2 separate regions of the Homo sapiens genome follow, and region 2 is linked to region 1. The links are contacts of gene promoters, found by promoter capture Hi-C in blood cells and fetal thymus (Javierre and others, 2016). All regions are on one chromosome and are shown on one strand. Each heading gives the region's core, a stretch centred on a gene start or on the middle of the fragment in contact. The rest is flanking DNA. Distances are from core to core; before and after follow the strand shown.

Region 1 (3,406 bases), core at 506-3,005:
AGCAAATTCTAAAATGCTTCTGGATGAGAAAGGCTAGCACAATGCTGAAACTAAACTGAGTCTATTTGCTAATTGCTATTAAGTTAATTTCATTGGTTAATTCTCCAGCATAACCCCCTCTAGGATAAACCTGGCCCCCAGTGAAAGGAAGATAAACCCTGTAAACCACGCAATCAACAGTGCCTCTGATACTCAAATGTACATCCTAGTCACCTACAGATCTTATTAAAATAAAGGTTCTGATAAATTACATCTAGAGTGAGGCCTGACGTTCTGCATTTCCAACAAGCTCCCAGGGGATATTATGCTGCTGGTATGCAGACCACACTTTAATGAGTATCAAGAGCTTGGACGACATTGCAGAGAATAGATCTACAGACTTAAAACCAGAGTTAAGATATCTCTTGTTCTTATATTCCCTAACTGCATAACTTTAGATAAGTCATTTCACCTCTCTGAGCCCTCCTTGTTTCATCTGTGAAAATAATATAGTTAATACAATAATTAATAACATAGTTAATACTAATAGCTAACACATACTGAGTTCTTACCATGTAGCAGTAACTAATGTTTTATGTTTGTCAATTTATAAATAAGGCTTAGATCAAACATCCTCTCCAAGTAATGGTGACCTGATACCTGATTGTAGGCCGTTTGACTCATACTTAACACCATGTAGCACTTACCTCCCAGAGCCTATGAAAATGAAATAATAATCGGTATTTGGCTAATTTGTACTGAGTACTCATACGCTCCAGGCCCTCGTCTAACCCTCCCTTGGACGATATTAACTCATTTATCTTATAACCACCCTAGGAAGTATTATTATCATTATCTCGCAGGCCTTAAAACGGCCTCAACAAGTAAAATTGCTGAAGGACCAACAGTGGCACAGTCAGGATTGGAACCCAGGCAGTGTAACTGCAGAGCGTGGCTTAGTTTCAGCACTGTACTAGATTAATTGAACTAGACTAGGTTCTGTAACTGCAGAATCCCGGATCTCCGAGTCAGCTAGCTCACTAGGGTCGGTGCACACCCGCGCCCACTCGGGGTGGCTTCATTGCCAGAGCCACTGACTCCCAAAACAAAACGAATCTTCTACAATTAGCTCTATGTGTATCTTTGGGATGTTATCTTTCTCGGGCCACAACTAGGAACCCTGAAAGCCGACTATGACTCCAGTGAAACTATTTGGCCCTAAGAAGGGTGATTGTCTAAACATCTTCACAACGGATTTACACTGAAATTGTAACACGCACTTGATTGGAACCCCACACCACAGGCAGTCCCAGGAATTTGTACCCGCCCCGGTCCCGGACCGCGCCCCTGGACAAACCCTCCGGCCCGCCCCTCCGGATTGAGCCCCAAGACTGTCCCCGGACCACCATCCTAAGACCACTCCCTGAACTGCCCCCCCCAAGACCGCCCCCTAGATCGCCCCCCGGGACCGCCCTCTCTAGACCGCCTGCGAGACTGTCCCCGGACCGCCCCCTGGACCACCCCCTAGGCGGCCCCCCGAGCTGTCCCTGGACCGCCCTCTAGACCGCCTCCCGCCCCCTGCATCCTGGGAATCGTAGTCCCAATCCTGCTCTGGAACTAGCAGTGCGGCCTGCTCGGGCCAGCTCCGCCTCTATCTGGCGCCAGCCTAAAGGTCCCGCTTCTAATCCCATCATCTCTCCATACCGCCCTCTGCCGGCCTTTCCTCTGGTCGCCCGGATTGCGAGCCGCTTCCGGACGCTCCGGAAGCGAACCTTTCTTTTCCGGATTGGGCATCCCGGCATCTGCACGTGGTTATGCTGCCGGAGTTTGGGCCGCCACTGTAGGAAAAGTAACTTCAGCTGCAGCCCCAAAGCGAGTGAGCCGAGCCGGAGCCATGGAGGGCCAGAGCGTGGAGGAGCTGCTCGCAAAGGCAGAGCAGGACGAGGCAGAGAAGTTGCAACGCATCACGGTGCACAAGGAGCTGGAGCTGCAGTTTGACCTGGGCAACCTGCTGGCGTCGGACCGGAACCCCCCGACCGGGCTGCGGTGCGCCGGACCCACGCCGGAGGCCGAGCTACAGGCCCTGGCGCGGGACAACACGCAACTGCTCATCAACCAGCTGTGGCAGCTGCCCACGGAGCGCGTGGAAGAGGCGATAGTGGCGCGGCTGCCGGAGCCCACCACACGCCTGCCGCGAGAGAAGCCTCTGCCCCGACCGCGGCCACTTACACGCTGGCAGCAGTTCGCGCGCCTCAAGGGCATCCGTCCCAAGAAGAAGACCAACCTGGTGTGGGACGAGGTGAGTGGCCAGTGGCGGCGGCGCTGGGGCTACCAGCGCGCCCGGGACGACACCAAAGAATGGCTGATTGAGGTGCCCGGCAATGCCGACCCCTTGGAGGACCAGTTCGCCAAGCGGATTCAGGCCAAGAAGGAAAGGGTGGCCAAGAACGAGCTGAACCGGCTGCGTAACCTGGCCCGCGCGCACAAGATGCAGCTGCCCAGCGCGGCCGGCTTGCACCCTACCGGACACCAGAGTAAGGAGGAGCTGGGCCGCGCCATGCAAGTGGCCAAGGTCTCCACCGCCTCTGTGGGGCGCTTTCAGGAGCGCCTCCCCAAGGAGAAGGTGCCCCGGGGCTCCGGCAAGAAAAGGAAGTTTCAACCCCTTTTCGGGGACTTTGCAGCCGAGAAAAAGAACCAGTTGGAGCTGCTTCGTGTCATGAACAGCAAGAAGCCTCAGCTGGATGTGACTAGGGCCACCAATAAGCAGATGAGGGAGGAGGACCAGGAGGAGGCCGCCAAGAGGAGGAAAATGAGCCAGAAGGGCAAGAGAAAGGGAGGCCGGCAGGGGCCTGGGGGCAAGAGGAAAGGGGGCCCGCCCAGCCAGGGAGGGAAGAGGAAAGGGGGCTTGGGAGGCAAGATGAATTCTGGGCCGCCTGGCTTGGGTGGCAAGAGAAAAGGAGGACAGCGCCCAGGAGGAAAGAGGAGGAAGTAATAGTTTCTAACTGTCGGACCCGTCTGTAAACCAAGGACTATGAATACTAAATGTTAAGTTCTAGGCAATTATACGGGGACTCAGAAGGACCTGGCCGCTGCCTTCATTGAGTTTAAAGGGACAGGATTGCCCTTCCGTCAAGAAAGTATGTAAGTGTTGGACTGCACAAATTAATGTTTTTCCCACAACCGAGACTTTGGAGATTAAGAACTTATTTGAGGATTTAAGAATTAGGGAAATAATTTGGTGGAAACCGGGAATGAGTTCTATTCTTAAACAGCCTTTTTTTTTCTTTTTAATGTTGGATATACGGCGAGGTAGAGTTGGCCATATTTCAGAGACTTAGATTGACGTATATGTTTCTGCATTATTTTTACAACAAGTTTGTGTATCAGAGCGGGAGTGCGGGGGAGGGAAAGAAAACAAACAGTTTCA
Region 2 (3,406 bases), core at 414-2,913, 260 kb before region 1:
ACTGTTCTGTGGGGCTCTATTTTTAGTTTTGATATCACTTGCTTTAGAAGCTAATATCTCTTGTACATTTTCATGACATACCTGTGCCCTAGTTCATCCCTTGTTCTGTCTAAACCAGTTTCCACAAAACTGCAGAGGCCACCTGTCATGGACCAGTGACTTCCAGCACTGGCTTGTCCTCTTGGCTGAGAAAGTCCAATGGTTCCCAGCCCAAGTATCAACAAAAAGGTGCAAATAGTCCCTTCCCCTTTCCCAAGTGTCCCCAGTTTCTTTCTATCTGACACATAATTATCTCAGAGACAGCCTCAGGAACAAAGTGGGTTCCTCACACCTTATGGCTCTTCACTCTCAAATAGCAGCGATGCAGAGGGCAAGGCCAATAGCCTACTATAGGCAGATGCAGTGGAGAAAATGTCGCCAAGGAAAACCAGCCTGCAGTCCTCTTAGTCTCCAACCCAGGCTCTGTGATAGTTGTTTTGTAAGATTATAAAGGTGATCCCAGAGGAAAATAAAAAACATTACATTACAGAAAAAAGGCAGGGAGGAAAGGAAAATGGAAGGGAAAGGAAAAATGGGAAGGAGGAAAGAAGGAAGGAAGGAAGGAAGGAAGGAAGGAAGGAAGGAAGGAGGGGACTTATGGTTTAAATGGTTTAAAAGACTGGTAGCGGGTAAGGGAGGAAGGGGCTAGCAAAGCCTCTTTTCCCCCTTGAACCCCAGGGTTTATTTCCCAGTCTTTCAGAAACCAATACACGTGTCCCCAGACCTGAGCCTTTCACATCACTCAAGGTTCAGCGCCCTTGAAAATATTCATATTTTCCTAAGCCAGGATGGACAATGGGCCAAAGTTCCAAGGAGGAGCAACCTTTGTGAGCCCCGCATCTCTACTGGGTATAACTTGCAAAAAGATAAAAGCATTTTATGCAAAAGATTTTTGAGACCAAGCTATACATTCTTATTTCAAGTGCAAACGTCCACTCCAGCTGCCACTAGAGACTGAGAGGTGAGAGATGCAGGAGGCTAGAGGGCCAGAAGCTGCTTTTCTGAGGAAGATTAATTTCACAAGATATTACAAAGCATTAAAAAAAAAAACTAGAGACTAAGAACATGATTTCCCATGAGTGTGACTATAGGTCTCAGGTTCTTTGAAATGATCTATTTAATTTTCCAAAACAAACGGAAGTGAATGAAAATTTAACTCTGTTCTCTAAATTTAATTGAAGGATTCAGGGTGTCAAATTATTTTCAAACAGAGATCCCTACTGAGAGCAATTGCTATGTGTTTTACAAATTAGGAGATTCAAGCTTACAAGTTGCTGATATGCCAGGCGCCCTGACCGTGCTGGAATTTCAACTTGATAACAATAGAGAAAAACTGATCCGTCCTCAGGACTGGCCTATATTTACTCCAAAATATTGTCCGGGGCCTAATAATCCTGGAAATTATAAGAAGCTATGGTAGTGAGATGCAGACATTCTTACCTAGGAAAAAAAATTGTAGGAGAGGGTAACATTTTTTTAACAAGTAAGTTTGAATGAGACCTTTACATTAACATTATTAATGCTTTTTCATTTGTACCCTACAACTGCAATATTATTTTTCTGGGCTTTTTTTTTTTCCTACTGAGAAAGTGCCAGATATTGGGGGCCTTGGGGAAATTTACATCCAGGTCCCCACAGCTGGGCTGCCATCTCCTCAATCTCCTCAAGGCCCCCAATATCTGTCACTATATCTCCTATTAACTGTCAATTTGGGGGTTTTACCAGAAGGACAATAAAAAAGTCAATACTAAAATTGTAGACTACATTTCTCAGGATCAAATGGCATCCTAAGTAAATGTCACTTTAATAGGAAGCTAAAATGGATGTATCCATTTTAAAGAGGAAAATATAATGTAAATTGTGTGTGAGTAGGGTAATGAATTCATTCATTTCCCCTGGCAATCTGTGCCTACAACTCTACAATTCTGTGAACACAGCTCTGGGAGAGCTCTCTTGGGGAGCTGTTATGACACAGCTAGCTGAGCTAAGCTTCCTGTGTTTTCAAATTGTTTATTATTCTGATTTAACCTAAGACTTTTGTTAGTGCTGTACATCCTGTGGGATTTTTTCTGTCTTTATTTGTGTATCTCAGTGATTTTCATGGTACACCTCTTCTTCCACTACACTCCACGAAGTGAAGAGTTAGTCCACCAAGGTGTTAATGCATCTGAAAAAACAATGGCACGTGGCAGTGGCTGTAACAAATGTGTGCCCATTGCTTTATCATCTACAAAGTCTTTCATAAGGATTCTCTCGTTTAAACCTCACAACAGCCCACTAGAGTAGGAACTGTTAAACTTTCCCATTTTATAGTGGAGGAAAATGAGGATTCTAGAGGAGGCATGACTTGCTTAGGATCACAGAGTAGCTGGGAGCTTGTTGCCTTTTGATCTCTCGTCCTCCACCAAGTGGGGCATGCAGTGTAATGGAAGCCAAGTAGCATCTAAGAAAAGTGGATGAATCCCCACTTCACTTAGGTTCATGGGACTGAGGCAAAAATCAGCGTGACCAGGGGCTGTTCTGCTTTGACTCACCACTCAGGATAGATCGGCACAGCCTCACAAGAACAGGTGGGTCGTTTCTAGGCCTCCACTCCTGGCAGGGATGTAGCTGTCCACTGCAAATGAGGGCGAGCCGATCCTTCAGTTGCATCCCATGCTGTCAACCAACCTGCCTCTCTGTCTGCCTTCAGTGGAGAGGCTGACCCTGTCCCGAGTCTCAGGTGTGCAACAACACCAGCTGCCCTCTTTCCCTTTGGACTTCTGGTCTCTATGAACAACTCTTGGCACTTTATCCTAGAGTTACTTTGAGCAAGGTCCTCAAACTTCCTGAGTCTGAACTTTCTCATCTATAACTGATAGTAATACTATCGACCTCCCATGGTTCTTAAGGACAACCTGTTGGGTCTGTTTGCCTAACGCAATGTAAGAAACCCCTGTCTGTGAAGAATTAATGACCTAATTCTTCACAATCCAGTTCTTTTTTCAGGAAGAGCAAGAATACATACACTGTCTACATGACACAAAATTGTCAGCTCCATATCTGAGAAGAAGGCTGGCAGCAAGTTTTTGCCAGGCTGTGATATCAACTTCCATAACCTGTCCTCTCCACCCTGATCCCATCAATTCCTGGACAACACACTTAACACAAACCAAACAGTACACACCACAGCATCCTCCTCCACGTCAGGAAGAAGTGAGTTTAATTCCTGCTTGTTTGATGGGCCTCAGGAAATTATTCTCATTTCCGATTTTCTCTTAGCAAGAAGGAGGCAGCTGATGGCAACAAAGCCCCCCAGTCAGTTCACTCCACACACCCCCTTAATCACTCAGTTTGTATGGCTGTGAATCCTCCCAAGAAAAAATGC

What was found. The method cuts DNA at HindIII sites, captures the fragments that hold promoters and counts their contacts. A CHiCAGO score of 5 or more calls a contact.
Region 2: a contact is called between a fragment that was not itself captured here and the fragment with the promoter of RRS1 in region 1, in 1 of 17 cell types (M2 macrophages). The highest score is 5.4, in M2 macrophages.

What each region holds. Positions count from the first base shown.
Region 1 is chr8:66,427,259-66,430,664 of GRCh38, forward strand. It overlaps RRS1 (regulator of ribosome synthesis 1), which reads left to right and starts at 1,756. Exons shown (of 1, transcript NM_015169.4): 1 at 1,756-3,406. The coding sequence starts at 1,874. The coding sequence ends at 2,971. RRS1-DT (RRS1 divergent transcript) reads right to left here and starts at 1,719. Exons shown (of 3, transcript NR_040434.1): 1 at 1,684-1,719. The region is part of intron 1 of LOC102724687 (a long non-coding RNA gene); the gene reads right to left. RefSeq lists enhancers at 1,145-1,214, 1,635-2,004, 3,274-3,323 and a silencer at 1,405-1,494. The HindIII fragment of the contact is 6,678 bases long and covers 1-3,406 here.
Region 2 is chr8:66,164,348-66,167,753 of GRCh38, forward strand. The region is part of intron 9 of TRIM55 (tripartite motif containing 55); the gene reads left to right. Among named protein-coding and RNA genes, the nearest start is that of CRH, 12 kb to the right of the region's middle. The HindIII fragment of the contact is 726 bases long and covers 1,301-2,026 here.